5 separate regions of the Homo sapiens genome follow, and regions 2, 3, 4 and 5 are each linked to region 1. The links are contacts of gene promoters, found by promoter capture Hi-C in blood cells and fetal thymus (Javierre and others, 2016). All regions are on one chromosome and are shown on one strand. Each heading gives the region's core, a stretch centred on a gene start or on the middle of the fragment in contact. The rest is flanking DNA. Distances are from core to core; before and after follow the strand shown.

The links. The method cuts DNA at HindIII sites, captures the fragments that hold promoters and counts their contacts. A CHiCAGO score of 5 or more calls a contact.
Region 2: a fragment that was not itself captured here is called in contact with the fragment with the promoter of SNAI2 in region 1 in 9 of 17 cell types (M0 macrophages, M1 macrophages, M2 macrophages and 6 more); the score reaches 15.1 in M0 macrophages.
Region 3: a contact is called between a fragment that was not itself captured here and the fragment with the promoter of SNAI2 in region 1, in 4 of 17 cell types (M2 macrophages, M1 macrophages, M0 macrophages and 1 more). The highest score is 7.6, in M2 macrophages.
Region 4: a contact is called between a fragment that was not itself captured here and the fragment with the promoter of SNAI2 in region 1, in 4 of 17 cell types (M0 macrophages, M1 macrophages, endothelial precursors and 1 more). The highest score is 10.4, in M0 macrophages.
Region 5: a contact is called between a fragment that was not itself captured here and the fragment with the promoter of SNAI2 in region 1, in 4 of 17 cell types (endothelial precursors, M1 macrophages, M0 macrophages and 1 more). The highest score is 15.3, in endothelial precursors.

The regions. Positions count from the first base shown.
Region 1 is chr8:48,919,778-48,923,280 of GRCh38, forward strand. It overlaps SNAI2 (snail family transcriptional repressor 2), which reads right to left and starts at 1,652. Exons shown (of 3, transcript NM_003068.5): 1 at 1,410-1,652; 2 at 119-664. The coding sequence starts at 1,488. LOC107986942 (a long non-coding RNA gene) reads left to right here and starts at 1,780. Exons shown (of 4, transcript XR_001745895.3): 1 at 1,780-2,424; 2 at 2,913-2,987. RefSeq lists an enhancer at 1,763-1,842. The HindIII fragment of the contact is 2,868 bases long and covers 394-3,261 here.
Region 2 is chr8:48,330,937-48,334,439 of GRCh38, forward strand. No RefSeq gene overlaps it. Among named protein-coding and RNA genes, the nearest start is that of LINC02947, 190 kb to the right of the region's middle. The HindIII fragment of the contact is 7,499 bases long and covers 1-3,503 here.
Region 3 is chr8:48,348,691-48,352,193 of GRCh38, forward strand. All of the region lies in intron 1 of LOC105375821 (a long non-coding RNA gene), which reads left to right. Among named protein-coding and RNA genes, the nearest start is that of LINC02947, 170 kb to the right of the region's middle. The HindIII fragment of the contact is 1,860 bases long and covers 665-2,524 here.
Region 4 is chr8:48,390,419-48,393,921 of GRCh38, forward strand. The region is part of intron 2 of LOC105375821 (a long non-coding RNA gene); the gene reads left to right. Among named protein-coding and RNA genes, the nearest start is that of LINC02947, 130 kb to the right of the region's middle. The HindIII fragment of the contact is 3,631 bases long and covers 1-3,503 here.
Region 5 is chr8:48,406,467-48,409,969 of GRCh38, forward strand. All of the region lies in intron 2 of LOC105375821 (a long non-coding RNA gene), which reads left to right. Among named protein-coding and RNA genes, the nearest start is that of LINC02947, 110 kb to the right of the region's middle. The HindIII fragment of the contact is 470 bases long and covers 1,749-2,218 here.

The sequences.
Region 1 (3,503 bases), core at 402-2,901:
CTATCAATGACTGTCCATCATTAAAAGCACTATGTCACAACTTCATGCAAATCCAACAGCCAGCCCAGGGCTTCATTGTATCTCAGAGTAACATTCCTGCCTATGGTTTTTCTCTTACCCGTGTGAGTTCTAATGTGTCCTTGAAGCAACCAGGGTCTGGAAAACGCCTTGCCGCAGATCTTGCAAACACAAGGTAATGTGTGGGTCCGAATATGCATCTTCAGGGCGCCCAGGCTCACATATTCCTTGTCACAGTATTTACAGCTGAAAGATTTTCTAGACTGGGCATCGCAGTGCAGCTGCTTATGTTTGGCCAGCCCAGAAAAAGTTGAATAGGTCTTATTGCATAAATTGCACTGAAACTTTTCAGCTTCAATGGCATGGGGGTCTGAAAGCTTGGACTGTAGTCTTTCCTCTTCATCACTAATGGGGCTTTCTGAGCCACTGTGGTCCTTGGAGGAGGTGTCAGATGGAGGAGGGGGACTCACTCGCCCCAAAGATGAGGAGTATCCGGAAAGAGGAGAGAGGCCATTGGGTAGCTGGGCGTGGAATGGAGCAGCGGTAGTCCACACAGTGATGGGGCTGTATGCTCCTGAGCTGAGGATCTCTGGTTGTGGTATGACAGGCATGGAGTAACTCTCATAGAGATACGGGGAAATAATCACTGGGAAAGAAAAGGGAGGGAGAGAAGATTAAGGCAAAAATAATTAAAAATAAATCCACACGCAAGTATACACACACTGGAAAGATATTTAGCAACACACACGTGATTTTCTTAGGAAGAAGATAGACCCATTTAGGAGGGCATACACACTGGTAAAATGTTTCATTTCCACCCTGGCACCTACGGAGTTACTGTACTTAATGCACACATAGGCTGACAGCTGCACGGAGCTATAGGTGCTCTGAAGTCAGACAGTGCAGCCAAGCCAGTGCCTTCGCCGTCCCCATTGAGGAAGGAGAGCCTCAACATTATTTTTAAACATACAGAAAAGTTGTTTTCCATGTTACGTATGGGCTATTTAGGTGTATTACGACCGTGAGTACAAAGATATGCCTGCATCAAGCCGCCTTCTAAAGGAAAGGAGACTTAGTGCATGAAAAACGCAGTAATTCAATCCTTATGTTGCTCATCTTTCACATACTCATTATGCATGTATACACAGGCTTTAGCAAACGAAGCTGCGAGATTTGAATGAAATGTTCCTTGTTAGTCAAGAATTTTAAAAGTTTTGAATTAAAACGAACCCTAAATGATCAAAAGAATGTAAGCTCCCTTTCAGGACACTGTTAAAAAGGAAAACAGTTGAATCTTTGGCTCTTTTGTAATGGTATTTGAAGGGTAATACGTAGATTCATATTTGCAAAGCTCTAGATACGTAGTTCTAGATATATTTTTCTCTTTTTACCTGTATGTGTGTCCAGTTCGCTGTAGTTTGGCTTTTTGGAGGCGTTGAAATGCTTCTTGACCAGGAAGGAGCGCGGCATCTTGCCAGCGGGTCTGGCGGGCGCCCGGCGCGGATAACGGTCCGGCGGGAGGACACGGCGGTCCCTACAGCATCGCGGCGGGCCAGGCTCGGGCAGGGGCCGTGCTCAGGTGCGGCAGACGGACGGGCCGGCGCCTCTGAAGTCACCCGGCTCCTTTACGAACTGAGCCCGTTTTGGCTGGGAGGGTTTTTTTTTCCTCTCTTTTGCAAGAAAGATCCAATCACAGCTGAGAGGTTCAGATTTCAGCTCCTCCCTCTGGGACAGCTGTGAACAGAGGAAGAATCTGTTGTCAGACTAAATTATTCTGGTTCAAAATGGGCTGTTTTTTGAGATTTCAGTGGAGAGGAAAAAAAGTGTTTAAGTATTTTCAAGAGAGGTAACCTCGCTCGGTGAGCCCCGCCCGCGATCCACGCTCTCTGGGAGCTAGGAGGGGCGCAGGAGCCGGGGTCTCTGCCCTGCCCGCCTGGCTTCCAGATGTGGTGCAGCGCCAGCGCGCGGGGACACAGTGTCCGCCAGGAGAAGGAAGGGCCGCCCTGCACCACACCAGGCCAGCCTCTGGTGTTAATGAGAGCCTATATTTGGAAGTGGCATCTGGAGAGGTTTGCCTTGCACAAAGACCAAATAATTACCTCTTGGCTTTTGAAAAAGGAAGGGGGAAGCGGGAAGACAAAGGCGCCTGTGAGCGCGGAGGACGCTCTCCTGGGACTCTGGCCTGGAGCGGGACTGCAGCCTTGCGTGCGGCGAGGGCGCTGCGCTACTCAGGGCTTCCGCGAAGCCAGGGGCAGCGCGGCCGCGTGCAAATTAAGTACTCATGTCACCGTGTTAGCTATGGTGGCTTGAAAGAAATGCTTTGTAGCCCTCTAAAGGCAGGCTGATCGGAAGAACTGGAAGATTGCAAAGATAAAAAGGAACTCTGGCAGAGAAGGGGGGCAAGAGGTAACTGTCATTTGGAACCACCGGACATTCTCTCACACTTTTGACAAGAGATCTTATCTTTTCATGTATTACAGTGCATCTTTTTTTTTATGGGAAAAAGGGTTGTATGGGTCTTTAGAGACAATTATTTTTATTTCTAATATTCCCCTGCTTTTATGTGGTGCTATTTTCATCAGTATAAAGCCATTAAAATCCATCTCAGTATCTACCAGTTTCCTGTATAATGCTAAAAAAGAAATTGAAGGATATTATTATGAATATAGATTGATTAAAGTTTTAAGAACCCAGTCTAGTAACTGCAAAAACACCTTTATTTTGTGTATGGTCTTCAATCTAAAAATACTTTCAGGTGGTTTATTTTAAATATAAAATTTCAAGCATATTTTAAAGCATCTCTGTCCATTGCAGACTTTTATCCCTATCTTTTGCTAAAAGAATAAGGAAAGAACAAATTCACATGAAGATCACCCTACTCTTGTTTCTAACAGGTGCTGGAGGAAAAAAGTGAAAAAGAAAATAACAGTGGTGATGTCAAGACTTGTCAGAGAAAAGTGCATTGTCAGGTTGCATAACTTCTTAATCTTGGAATGAGAAAACAAGAGTGTATGTGTGTTTGGAGGGTGAGGTGGGGCACTCACAGATTTCCTAAGCTAATTTCAATGATTATTCTTATTTCTTCCAACAGTCACTAATTTAAATGTCAAACAGAGAAAATAATTCAAAGGAATCCTTATGCTAATGGAACTGTACTTGCAGGAGAGAGGAAAATATGAATACATATTCGATTTCTCCACACACAAACTGGAACCTGGAGTAAAAGCCAGAGGCAGTTTTCTAAGCTTGCTACTCTATGTGAGGGTTTGTTCGGATGTAGGCACCTGGGTTTATGAGAGCAGGAGTCCTCCTTGCTTTTCACTCCATTTCCCACAAAACACACATTTTTGTTACAGATATAGCACAGTTGAGAAAACACATATCGCCATGGCTATTATTTCCTTGTTTCACTCTACACAGTCTATTCACAACAAAGAAGAGTGTTAGACAATGTTTTGGTATTTATTTGCTGGTAGTTATAACAC
Region 2 (3,503 bases), core at 378-2,877, 590 kb before region 1:
ACCGAGGTAGATAGGTAGATAGAGATTGAAACTAAATAAAGCACCATGATTGAAACTAAATAAAGCACCATGAAACTAAATAAAGCACCGTGGTTTCCCTTACATCATGAATAAAAGTAGACCAGTTTGAACCTTGACATAGGTGTTTGATCCTCAATTCTCAGCAAAATCGCGGGTGTGTCTCTATACAGCAGGATTTGACCATGCAGTAGGTGGACCTTTCAGAGAAATGCTGCAAGAGTTTCAAGGACGTTATTCTCTGCAGGTCTGTTTCTCATATTTTATCTTGTCTATCACAATGAGAGGGGACAAGTGTAATTCAGAGGCCACCTACTCAAAAAGGTAATATGAGTCAAGAATAATGAGAGGGCCTCAAAAGGAAATTCTGCTGTGCAGAGAGTACGATGGTCCTGGGTAATCATGGTGCTCCCACCCATCTGCTTTAAGAATTCAGACAGATTTTAAAGTGTGATGGGAGGTGGGTGGGAGGAGAGTTAAGTTCTACAGTATACTACTTCAAATAGTGCTTGAATCACTAACCCCAAAGCACAATGTATGGGGTGCGAGATTCTGATGAGTGCAGCTGTCTTCAGTTACCTTGCAGGACAACTTTGACTCACTGAAATGTATAATTTTAAACAGAAGTGTTCCTGCAGAGATTGTCATCTTGTTGGCAGGAGAATGGCACCTTACCGAGTAAGAATGAGGACTGCAAGAGGATGGGGCACAAGAAGCCCGAGAGGAAGAAAAGCAGTGAGACACCTTCAGTCTTCTAACCAGGCAGGTGCAATACACACTGCCTCTCCCAGATGGTTACATGTGTTTCTTTGAGTGTAAAAGTAGCCCCTGGCCACTGCCCTCCAAAGTATCCAGGGCTGTCTGCTTCATCATGTAGAGAGCTCATTTCCTGACCAGCTCATCCTCTGAGCCCAGGTCCTGTTTCTGTCTTTGAACACAACCTGGGCCATCATAGAGACAGTTTGAGCTCTTTTCCCTCTCCTTTTTCTCCCCTCTCCAAATAATCCCAGAAGTGCAACTCATCAAACCACACCTCTGCTTCTGGACCCGGCCAGGGCCCAGACAGCCAGAAGCCCATAGTGCCAGCTCTGGAGCAAGTTCTGCGTCTGCAAAGGGAACAGGAATCAGCCCCAGAAATGCAGGCGTGGGAAGAGTGTGTGCCTGGGAAAGGCATAAGGTGTGAGGTGTCTGTTTGCCAAACAACCCACTTAGCCATGTTTTCCAGTGTTGGTGGCGCCTGGAGACAGAATGAGAAAACACTCAAAGTGCTCCTCTGTCCAAGAATAATGAGGCTCACTTTCTCGAAAAACCTGTGATCTGTGAGAATTGGACTTCAGTAGTTAACTGTGCCATTGTGGTTATAAGGGTAATTGATTTATTTTTTTTCATACAACAAAAAACCCTTCTCTATGTCCTAGGGATTCAGCTGTCAGATCCAGGCAAACAGATAGTCTGCTTAGAAGAGTAAAAAAGATGTTCACATTGTGGGCGTGGGAATGGTCCTCCCCAATCCCTGCTCCGAGTTGCTCATCTCCAGCAGTCCTTCCCAGACTGAGCACAAGTGAGCAGCCGACAGCACCCTGGAACCCTGTGTGGACTCGCTCACTCCCACAGGCGAGCCCAGCTCCACACTTCTAACTGGCTACACAAAATGGGTTATGAACCCATTGTCAAGAGTTGTCAAGCTCCGGGCAGATGTGCTCTGTGGAAATATCTCCCTCCAGTGAGATAATGAGATGGCAATTAAAGCAGGACCTGAGAATGAGCCCAGACAGGGTTGGAGTGACAGAGCGGCAGGTCAGATGGGAAAGATTTTTTTTTAACTTTTATTTTTGTTACATAGGTAAACTTGTATCATGGGGGTTTGTTGTATCAATTATTTCATTCCCTAGGTGTTAAGCCTAGTACTCATTAGTTATTTTTTTTATTATACTTTAAGTTTTAGGGTACATGTGCACAACATGCAGGTTTGTTACATATGTATACATGTGCCATGTTATCGGGGGACCTGCCCTGATAATCACGTAGGTTCTTTTCTATTTTCCCTAAGCGTCGGTCGGCTTGAGAAATAAAGGGACAGAGTACAAAAGAGAGAAATTTTAAAGCTGGGTGTCCGGGGGAGACTTCACACATTGGTAGGATCTGTGATGCCCCACAGGCCACAAAAACCAGCAAGTTTTTATTAGAGATTTTCAAAAGGGGAGGGAGTGTGCGAATAGGTGTAGGTGACAGACATCAAGTACTTAACAGGGTAATAGAATATCACAAGGCAAGTGGAGGCAGGGTGGGATCACAGGACCACAGGACCGAGGCGAAATTAAAATTGCTAATGAAGTTTCGGCACCATTGTCATTGATAACATTTTATCAGGAGACAGGGTTTTGAGATCAACTGGTCTGACCAAAATTTATTAGGTGGGAGTTTCCTCTTCCTAATAAGCCTGGGAGCACTATGGGAGACTGGAGTCTATTTCATCTCTGCAGCCTTGACCATAAAAGATGGCTTACGCCTAGGGGGGCCAGTTCAGAGACCTACTTGCAGGCACACATTCTCTTTCTCAGGGGTGTTCCATGCTGAGAAAAAGAATTCAGCAATATTTCTCCCGTTTGCTTTTTAAAGAAGAGAAATATGGCTCTGTTCCACCTGGCTCACCAGCGGTCACAGTTTAAGGTTATCTCTCTTATTCCCTGAACAATTGCTGTTATCCTGTTCTTTTTTCAAGATGCCCACATTTCGTATTGCTCAAACACACATGCTATACAATTTGTGCAGTTAATGCAATTATCACATGGTCCTGAGGTGACATACATCCTCCTTGGCTGACAGGATTAAGAAATTAAAGTAAAGACAGGCATAGGAAATCACAAGGGTATTGATTGGGGAAGTGATAAGTGTCCATGAAATCTTTACAATTTATGTTTAGAGATTGAAGTAAAGACAAGCATAAGAAATTATAAAAGTATTAATTTGGGGAACTAATAAATGTCCATAAAATCTTCACAATCCACATTCTTCTGCCATGGCTTCATCTGGTCCCTCCGTTTGGGGTCCCTGACTTCCCGCAACACCATGTTGGTGTGCTGCACCCATTAATTCGTCATTTAGTATTAGGTATATCTCCTAATGCTATCCCTCCCCGCTCCCCCGACCCTACAACAGGCCCTGGTGTGTGATGTTCCCCTTCCTGTGTCCAAGTGTTCTCATTGTTCAATTCCCACCTATGAGAGAGAACATGTGGTGTTTGGTTTTCTGTCCTTGTGATAGTTTGCTGAGAATGATGGTTTCCAGCTTCATCCATGTCCCTACAAAGGACATGAACTCATCCTTTTTTATGGCTGCATAGTATTCCATGGTGTATATGTGCCACATTTTCTTAATCCAGTCTATCATTGTTGGACATTTGGGTTGGTTCCAAGTCTTTGCTGTTGTGAGTAGTGCCGCAATAAGCATATGTGTGCATGTGTCTTTACAGCAGCATGATTTAT
Region 3 (3,503 bases), core at 345-2,844, 570 kb before region 1:
ACCTAGAAATCATGATAAAACAAAACAGGAGCTGACAGACAAAATAGCCAGTATAGAAAAAAGAATTTAACCAACCTGATAGAGCTGAAAAACACATTACAAGAATTTCATAATGCAATCACAAGTATTAATAACAGAATAGTCCAAGAAAAGGGAAGAATCTCAGAACTTGATGATTGGCTTTCTGAAATAAGACAGTCAGACAAGAATAGAGAAAAAAGAATGGAAAGGAATTAATAAAACCTCCAATAAATGTGAGATTATTTAAAGAGAGTAAATCTATGACTCACTGGTGTCCCTGAAAGTGATGGGGAGAATGAAACCAACTTGGAAAACATACTTGGGGATATCATTCATAAGAACTTCCCCAACCTAGCTAGAGAGGCCAACATTCAAATTCAACAAATGCAGAGAACCCCACTAAGATACTTCACAAGAAGATCATCCCCAAGACACATAATCAGATTCTCCAACGTCAAAATAAAAGAAAAAAATGTTAATGGCAGCTAGTGAGAAAGGTCAGGTAACCTACAAAGGGAAGCCCTTCAGACTAACACTGGACCTCTCAGCAGAAACCCTGCAAACCAGAATATATCTGGGGCCAATATTCAAACTTCTTAAAGAAAAGAAATTCCAACCTGGAATTTCATATCCAGCCAAACCAAGCTTCATAAGTGAAGGAGAAATAAGATCCTTTTCAGACAAGGAAATGCTGAGGGAATTTGTTACCAGCAGACCTGCATTACAAGAGCTCTAGAAGGAAGCACTAAATATGGAAAGAAAAGACCATTACCAGCTGCTACAAAAACACACCAAAGTACACAGACCAGTGGCACTATTAAGCAACCACATAAACAAGTCTGCAAAATAACCAGTTAAAATCATGATGACAGGAACAAATCCACACACATCAATACTAACTTTGAATGTAAATGGGCTAAATGCCCCAATTAAAGGGCACAGAGTGGCAAGCTGGATAAAGACCCAATGGTATGCTGTCTTCAAGAGATCCATCTCACATGCAATGACACACATAGGCTCAAAATAAAGGGATGAAGAAAAATCTACCAAGCTAATAGAAAATAGAAAAAAGCAGAGGTTGCGATCTTAGTTTCAGACAAAATAGACTTTAAACCACGAAGATCAAAAAAGACAAAGAAAGGCATTACATAATGATAAAAAGTTCAGTTCAACTAGAAGATCGAATTATCCTAAATATATATGCATTAAACACAAACCACCCAGGTTCATAAAGCAAGTTCTTAGAGACCTTCAAAGAGTCTTACACTCCCACACAATAATAGTGGGAGATTTTAACACTGCACTAACAATATTAGACAGATCATTGATACAAAAAGTTAACAAAGATATTCAGGACCTGAGCTCAGCACTAGATTAAAAAGACCTGACGACATCTACAGAACCCTCTACTCCAAAACAACAGAATATACATTCTTCTCATTGCCACATGGCACATACTCTAAAACTGATCAGATATTTGGAAGCAAAACACTCCTCAGCAAATGCAAGATACCTGAAGTCATAGCGAACAATGTCTCAGACCACAGCATAATCAAATTAGAAATTAAGACTAAGAAATTCACTCAAAGCCATACAATTACATGGAAATTGAATAAGCTGCTCCTGAATGGCTTTTGAGTAAATAATGAAATTAAGACAGATGTCAAGAAGTTCTTTGAAAGTAATGAGAACAAAGATACAACATAACAGAATTTCTGGGACACAGCTAAGGTAGTGTTAAGAGGGGAGCTTATACCACTAAATGCCCACATCAAAAAGTTAGAAAGATCTCAAATTAACAACCTAATGTCACAACTAAAAGAACTAGAGAATCAAGAGCAAACAAATACCAAAGTTAGCAGAAGACAACAAATAACCAAAACCAGTTTGAACTGAAGGAGATTAAGACACAAAAAACCATGGAAAAGATCAACGCATCCAGGAACTGTTTTTTGAAAAAAATCAATAAAATAGGATAAAGAAGAAAAGAGAGAAGATTCAAAGAGACACAATTAGAAATGATAAAGGGGATATTACCACTGGCCCCACAGAAATACAAATAACAGTTGAAGAATATAATGAACACCTCTATGAATATAAACTAGAAAACACAGAAGAAACAGATAAATTTTTGGTCACACATACCCTCACAAGACTGAAAGAAGAAGAAACTGAATCCCTGAATAGACCGATAATGAGCTCTGAAATTGAGTCAGCAATAAATAGCCTACCAATGAAAAAAAGCCCAGGACCGGATAGATTCACAGTTGAATTCTACCAAATGTACAAACAAAAGCTGGTACCATTCCTGCTGAAACTATTCTAAAAAATTGAGGAGGAGGGACTCCTCCCTAAATCATTCTATGAGGGTAGCATCATCCTGATACAAAAACTTGGCAGAAACACAACAAAAAACAAAACTTCAGGTGAATGTCTTTGATGAACACTGATGCAAAAATCATCAGCAAAATACTGACAAACTGACTTCAGAAGCACATAAAAAAGCTTATCTACCATGATCAAGTAAGCTTAATCCCCAGGATGCAAGGTTGCTTCAACATACACAAATCAATAAATGTGATTCATCACATAAGTGGAACTAAAGACAAAGACCACATAATCTCTCAATAGATGCAGAAAAGGCTTTCAATAAAATTCAACATCCCTTCATGTTAAAATCTCTCAATAAAGTAGGTATTGAAGGAACTTTCTTCAAAATAACTGGAGCCATCTATGACGCACCCCCAGACAACATTATACTGGATGGGCAAAAGCTGGAAGCATTCCCCTTGAAAATCATGGGGACAGATGGATGCCCTCTGTCACCATTCCTAATTGTCACCACAATGGCATTCCCATTAGAAATCATGGGGCATTCCTCTTGAAAATCAGTGCAAGAGAAGGATGCCTTCTATCACCACTCCTCTGTCACCATTTGTATTCAAGATAGTATTGGAAGTCCTGGCCAGGGCATTCATGCAAGAGAAAGAAATAAACAGCATCCAAATAGGAAGAGAGGAAGTCAAACTATTCCTGTGTGCAGATGACATGATCCTATATCTAGAAAACATCATATTCTCAGTCCTAAAGCTCCTTAAGCTGATAAACAACTTTAGCAAAGTTTCAGGATACAAAATCAGTGTGAAAAATCACTAATATTCCTATACATCAATAACAATCAAACCAAGAGCTAAATCAGGAACACAATCCCATTCACAACTGCCATAAAATAATGAAATACCTATGAATACAGCTATCCGGGGAGGCAAAATATATTTACAAGGAGAGCTACAAAATATTGCTCAAACGAATCAGAGATGATACAAACAAATGGAAAAACATTCCATCCTCATGGATAGGAAGAATCAATCTTCCTATATTAAAATGGCCTATATTAAAATGACCATACTGCCCAAAGCAATTTATACATTCAATGTTATTCCTATTAAAATACCAATGACATTCTTCAAGAACTAGTAAAA
Region 4 (3,503 bases), core at 544-3,043, 530 kb before region 1:
AGCTGAGTGATTAAGCCTTGGAATCTTGACACTGGGATTAAATTTGGATGTTCTGGAGAAGACTTTTGGACACATTCAGAAAAGAGCAGGCAGCAAACCCCAGCTGCATCTAGAACAGCTGCGTTGGGTGAGGGTTCCTGGGATGTTCTCTAATTGGTCTGTTTTACATGTTGTCACAGACTTGGAATCAGCAAAACATCCCCTTTAAAACAGATAGTCTTCTGGCTGCTATGCTGGTTCTTATATTAAAACTTTTTTGTATTGAAAAAACCCCTCTTTTTAAACAAGTAAAAGGCTATGTATTTTCTCAAGTGCTGCAAGCAAATAGCTAGGGTGTTGGGAATATAAAGCACAAAGAAGTCATGTTTATTATAAGAACTTTAAAAAAAGCAGGAGATGCTCTGAGGGCTGGTATTTTACCTTCCACCTCCCACCACTTCTCTCTTTCTCTTATAAAAAGGCTGCTATGGCGACCGACCTCCTGAGTATGGTTAAAAAAAAAAGATCCTTTTGCCTTATGTTCCAGTAGTTTTTGAACCTTTGGAATCTCACAAGAGGTGTCAAATTTAGCTGACTCAAGCTCTTCATCTGAATAGAAATAGAAACCTTTGCGAGGCTGAGGCAGGAGGATCGCTTGAGCTCAGGAGATAGAATCCAGCCTGGGCAACATAGCAAGGCCCCATCTATAAAAAAGAGAAATAAAAAAACTAGCCAGACACGATGGTGTGCACCTGTAGTCCCAGCTACTTAAAAGGCTGAGGTGGGGTAATCGCTGGAGCCTGGAAGGTCGAGGCTGCAGGGAGCCATGATTGCACCACTGCACTCCAGCCTGGGCAACAGAGAGATATCTTGTCCCAAAAACAAAAACCTAGAAATAGAAGCCTAGAGGGGAACTGAGGTGCTGCATGCTGGGGGTCCCCTCCCACAGGAAGGACCAGAGCAGGACAGCTTCAAGGATCTGCTGCAAAGCCCCGTGCTCCTCAGAGTCATGCTTTGTCTCAAGAGTGGAGTAGAAAGAGCTTTGTGTAGATATGCTTGTCTCATTTCGTAATAATAATACAACCCGAAATGAACTTTTTATTTAGTGACTGAATGCTTTAACCTATATTATTTTTTCCTTTTCCTCATCCCCTCTCTTACCAGCTGTCATTTATTCATTCAGTTCTTAATGTGTTCTATCCTGTGACTATTGGGATTAAGAAGGTCAATGAGATATAATTCCTATCTTCAAGGAATTTATCCTTAATGTAGTCACTTGAAAGTTCAGATATTATGCTTCTGACTTCTAATTCCAATGAGGTGATGAGACATTATTTGTATGCTATCCCTGGACCCATTCTGCACATGCAGATTGCTATGGTGTGGTAAATATAAGCTGCCTTTTGCAGGGGCTTTCGCTATGTACAGTTTTGTTCATTGCACTCTTGCTGGTCTTAAGAGTTTGCTCAGGAAGGCCCTTTGCTGTTTCCACTACTGGGTCTGGCATTTCTTGTTGTCACCAGAGCCATAGAAGGCATGCTGCTTTTCCTCAGAGTCTACCTTGTGGGCTGGGAGCCTGCACGTAAATGCAGGAAACCATTGTCCATGCCACAAAAGCTCCGGCACACTGGAGGAGCTGGTGCACAAACCTACCAGAGGCTATGCATTCACAAGGAAGCCACCTGGCCTCAGAGGCGGTTAGTGAGGCTCTGGGTCCTAGGTGGGCTGGGGAAGTGCAGTGCCAGAGACAGTGCAGAACACATGGCCGTTCCATGCCAGCAGGTCTTCCCAGAGGCCCAGTGGAGAGGAGTGGGAGTTCGTGCAGGACCCAGGAGGGCAGGGCTTTGTGATAGGCAGGTGCAGCCAGGAAAGCAGTGGCTCTCTGGGGCTCTGGGCTAGGGTTCCGTCCTCTGTACCAGAGCTGCCTCTGGAGCTGCCCTAAAGCCAGTCTCAAAGAATGGCTGCGGCTGTGAGGTGGTCTAAGTGAGTCTAATAGTGGGAAGACAGCCAGTCCCTTAGAGGTACCTCTGAGATGCTAGGAAAATTGCCCTTGGAATCTGACACATGCCCCTGTACCCAGAAGGAAGAAACAACTCTTGCTTTTGTTTTTAAGAGCATCTATCTCCCTGCTGACCTGAGCATGCTTCACTGCATCTGCGCAGAGGCCAAGAAAACCCCAAATAAGAAAGTCCCTGTAGCTGTGCTAGCCTGGGAAGTCAGGCACTGGGCTGGGCTCAGTGTTGCCTGCGGCAGGCAGCTTATCAGCTCACAGCCAGAGCTTGGGACTCTTCATCCATTGCCCTACACAGGTCTGATTTTAGTAGAAATTTGCTCTTTAAGACAGAGGCATTCTTATGATTATGCAGAATATAAAACTGCCTTTCAGGCAGCAGATAGGACCTTTTGCTTCTCGCAGCATCGGAAATCCCATCTCTAGAAACTTCTTCCTCTTACGAGTAGGGCGAACATAGAAAAGTCTCTGCAAGTCTTGTCAGAGGAGAGAGAATCAGAGGCTGATGTCAGAGTGGCTGTGACTGGGAAGGGCTCTGAGGGTGGGGAGGAGAGGCACTGGGTACCCAGGACCCAGTGTGCCCATCGCATGCTCCTATGGGTGACACACATCAACGACTGCTCAGAACAACCCAGGAGTTGCTGGAACTCACATCATCAGCATGGCAGCACCAATGAGTGAGGGCTTCCTGATCTCCTTACTGTGGCCTGGGCCTCAGGCCATGAGTACTTCGGATGATTTCAGTGGGATCCTCCTCATTGCCCAGCATGAGAACTGGCTGCAAACTGGAAGGCACCCTGAGTAAGACAGGCGCACCCTTCCTGCACAAGTGGGTCAGCTCTCGAATCCTATAACATGGCTCAGGGTGCTGTGAGAAGTGGGCATGGTGGGGGTACTGAGGAGCATGGCCCTGTTTCTGCTGCCCCTGGGAATCTCTGGGCAGCCAAAGAGGGGCTGTGTTGGGCTTCCCGTGTGCCCAGAACTGGCCTGCACAATGACCGGGGCACAATTACAGATAATTCTGCCCCTTTCCAACCAATTTGGATGTTCCATTATGAGTCTTTAGAGTTGGACCAGGCTACACCAAGTATCATTTTGTTTTCCTGACCTAGTTTAATGGTTTTTTTTTTTTTTTAAATAAGAAACTGAATTTGTAGCTCTTTTCACCCTAAAATGATTGCACATTGAGCTGAGCTGGAAGAGAGACTTCTGGTTCTTTTTTTTTTTTTGGAGGCAGGGTCTCACTCTGTTGCCCAGGTTGGAGTGTAGCAGTATGATTGCCCCAATCACCCTGGACTCAAGTGATCCTCCTACCTCAGCCTCCAAAGTAGCTGATGGGTGTGCACCATCACACTTGGCTAATTTTTCTTATTTTTTGTAGAGATGGGGTTTTGCCATGTTACCAGGCTGGTCTCAAACTCCTGGGCTCAAGTGGTCCTCCTGCGTCGGCCTCCCAACATGCTGGGATTATAGGCGGGAGCCACTGTGCCTGGTCACTTCTAGTTCTTACTTG
Region 5 (3,503 bases), core at 734-3,233, 510 kb before region 1:
AGGAGTTGTGTCTGATCTGGTTGCAGTATATAAAGAATTAGTAAAAAGTCTGTTCCCAGATACTATGTTGAGTTCCACAGAGAAGGGCTTCCTCACATAGATCTGCATGAGGTGTTATGTTCCTATCAAGATATTTAAGATGCTTTGACTTCTAAAAGAATAACTGGCTTTTTTTTAAAATCTCTCTGGGGGAATTTTCTCATCTTTTCTACTCCCTGCTTAAGTTAAAAACCACTATGAAGAGCTCTGAAGTTTATAAAGGTTTTGACTCTTAAAATCTGCTGGTCTTGATGTGAAAAGTGCTAAATGATATGGAATGAAACTGCTGGCTGTGCCTGGTGTTGCAGCCAGGCATTTTATTGTTCATTCAAGGAGACAGCTGTGCGGTCTGAGGTCAGCGAGGGAAGATGGCCTGGGTCTGTGAGGGTGCTGTGGGCTGCTGGCTTCTGAACATGCTTGGCCATGATCTGGAGTCCAGCATTCCCAGAGGGAACGGAGCCTACAGGGTCACGTTTAAACACCACAATGGAATTGAAACTTTTCCTTTAGGCTATTTAATTTGTATGTAATAAAAGCTATATTGCTTCTTGTTAAACCTGCATGAAAACAAGTTAAATTTCCCAGAAAACCTCATAAGGGATGGAGGTAGTGAAGGGACCTTGGAGATGGATGAGCAGATGTGAGCATGTGGCATACTCATGTTCCTGCTGGGACCCTGAGGGCTCCTCTCAGGGGCTCCCTACTCCCAGTGTGGACACTGGGTCTTCTTCCTGCCACCTGTGAAGCCCACACGGTCACATGTAAATCACCGGACAATTTCCCTTGGGTGCCTTGAGATTTCCCTACTGTGGATAAAGTGTTCTGTTTCTTGGGTGGAAGGAGCCCCACTCACTCTCTGGGGCAGCCAGGCTGCCGGGTACAGCTGCCCCCAGTGCTTTCTGCCCACTGCAGATGTTAGGTGAATCAAGATAATTAAAACCTGAATTACAGGATGCTTGTTCTCAGCTCAGACCAGGAGCTTTATTCAGATTTCATTTGCTGAGACACCTCTTGTGCCCCAGACATTGCCCTAGTGCAGCTGCATTCCATCCTCAGCAAGCTCAGCAAGGTAGATGTGGTTATGTCCACTACACAGGCAAGGCAAAGGAGGCAGAGAGGCTAGGCAGGCTGACCATGTGTCTCGCTTAAGAAGTGGTGAAGACAGGACCTAAATGCCAGTCTCCTTGGCTAAACGTTATACTTTTCCTCCCAAAGTGCACTGCCTCTCACAGATGGTGGAGGAGGGTGCAGAAGGGGCTCACGTGGCCAAATGGCCATGGCCATAGGAGGTCTGTGTGTTCCCAAACCTCTACCAACCCTGTCCCCCATCATTTAAAGTGATGATCATGATACCAACATTCTTAGTGGGCAGTAGTGCAAAGTCAGAGAAATAAGAAATAAGATGACTAATGTGAGAAAAGCCGGGGTGGTGTCTGGACAGGGGATGAGTCATTTATGCTCCACATCAGGTGGCTTGGAAACCATCACCCGCACACACTGCTGCTACTTTATGTTGGTGTGTGCAGCTGGCGTCTAAAGACTTCCTGCAGGTAGTCTTCCTGCAGCGGCTGCCCACCTGGCCCTGCTGTGCACCCTGTGCCTATGTGAAGCTTGGAGTCTAGCCTCACGCAGCCCGAGACTCCCAGGCTGCTTCATCCCCCATCTGCTGGAGAACCTGTTGCAGCTACAGAAATCTGAATCACTTGAGAAGCTTGTGTGATGGGCCTTGTTGCCTCACAGCTGCCTTTTTCCCGTGCTTCTCTCACCTGGGATGGATCAGCCCTTGAGTCTTCTCATGGCAAAGGTGAATGAAGCCTGGTTTTTCGCAGTTATCATCCTCTGACTTTATCATCCCCAAGGAAATGATCTAGGAAAGAGTGAGTACTTAATGATAAGAAAACTCACCATGTTTTATGATAGAGAAAAGCCCAGACCGCTTTTCGAAGTTGAATTTGCTACAGAAAAAGCATGGAAGGAAGAAGAAATAAGGTACACACAAACCTTGCCTGCTCTGCCCCAGAACTACAGGCCCTGGTGGGGCCTGCTCCCTGTCGCCAGCAAAGTTGCTGAGAGAGCACACGCCAGCCACGGTGGTGAAGTCATAGAAATGCTATGCCCCCACAGGCCACAGGAATTGTGGAAAGATTTGTGTAAATATCTCATGCATTCTTGTGATCTAAGCTTTATGGAAATAAAAACCACAATCAAAAAGCCAATGCCACATTTATTCCACCTCCTTCCTTTTCTCCTGTAGAATAAATTCATAGAACAGTTTATGGAGCAGCCAAGAAAATACGTTATTTCAATTTTATTACCAGGAAGACATGCACCTAAGTGCTCAGCAAGACTAACCTAAACAGGGTCCATTTCGGAAGAAGATGAGCAGATGCTGCTGGGCATCCCCTTAGTCATGAAGACAAGAGTGGCTCTCGCAGAGGCCACCCCACAGCCCCTGTGTCCAGATGGGCTTGGTAGTTACCAGTACTCAGAGAACTTCCAGCTTCCTTTCCTCTTCTCTCCTTTCTTAACTTTGTGGTGGATATTGGAGTTGGGACGTCTCACACACTCAGAGCACAGCTGGGATGTTCAACTTGCTGAAGCTTCCCTGGCACCAAGTTTAAAGAAACCACCGAGGAGCACATGGTTTCCCACACAGGCTCCTGGTGGGGCATGCCCTCACCAGGATTCCAGCAGCAGACCCCCAGGAGTCCTGGCCTGAGAGTGAGGAGGGGCCCTCTCTGGAGAGGAGCTGTGGACCCATGCTCACATCCATCCTTCCCACTTACCATAACACAGCAGGGAAGTCAGTGTCATGAGAACACATTTCCACCCTAAGTTTTTAAATGCACCATGCTAAAATTTTCTTTGAATTCTTGCCCCAATTTTTCTGACTTGTAATGTGAAACAACAGACTACTTCCTGCTTCTCTCTGCCCTCCTTTTCCCCACTCACATTCCAGTTATGTGTGTCACCCATATATTGAATGGACTTAGGAAAGTGCAAAGCAGGAAACAATCCAATTTTAATTAATCAATTGATGTTTTCTTCATTGCTCTTGAGGAGATCTCAGGCAGAAATCATAGTTTTCCTATTTACTTCTAACTATTCAAAGTCAAGCCTGAATTAAATCCTAACTTTGATCTCTCATCTAATTGAAAGTGTCTCCCCTCCCTGACCCCATCTCAGTCCTTATCTAGCCTGGGGACCTGGCACTGGAAAGGAGAACATTTCTTCACCCTTTCCTTCTACTCTGGAGTTAGGGGCTGGGAAGGAGGAGAGTAGGTGGCAGGAAGGTCTCATTTGTCTAGTGCAGTTATTATTTGACATTGTTACCTCTCCAGGGGCTCAGAAGCTGCCTTTTCCTTACCCATTTCAGAAGGAGACACTTGCGTGGTCTACCTGACCACTTCAACCAACTCTCAGCTTTTGCTGTAATAGCAGCACTGTGGAATGTTGCTCATGGA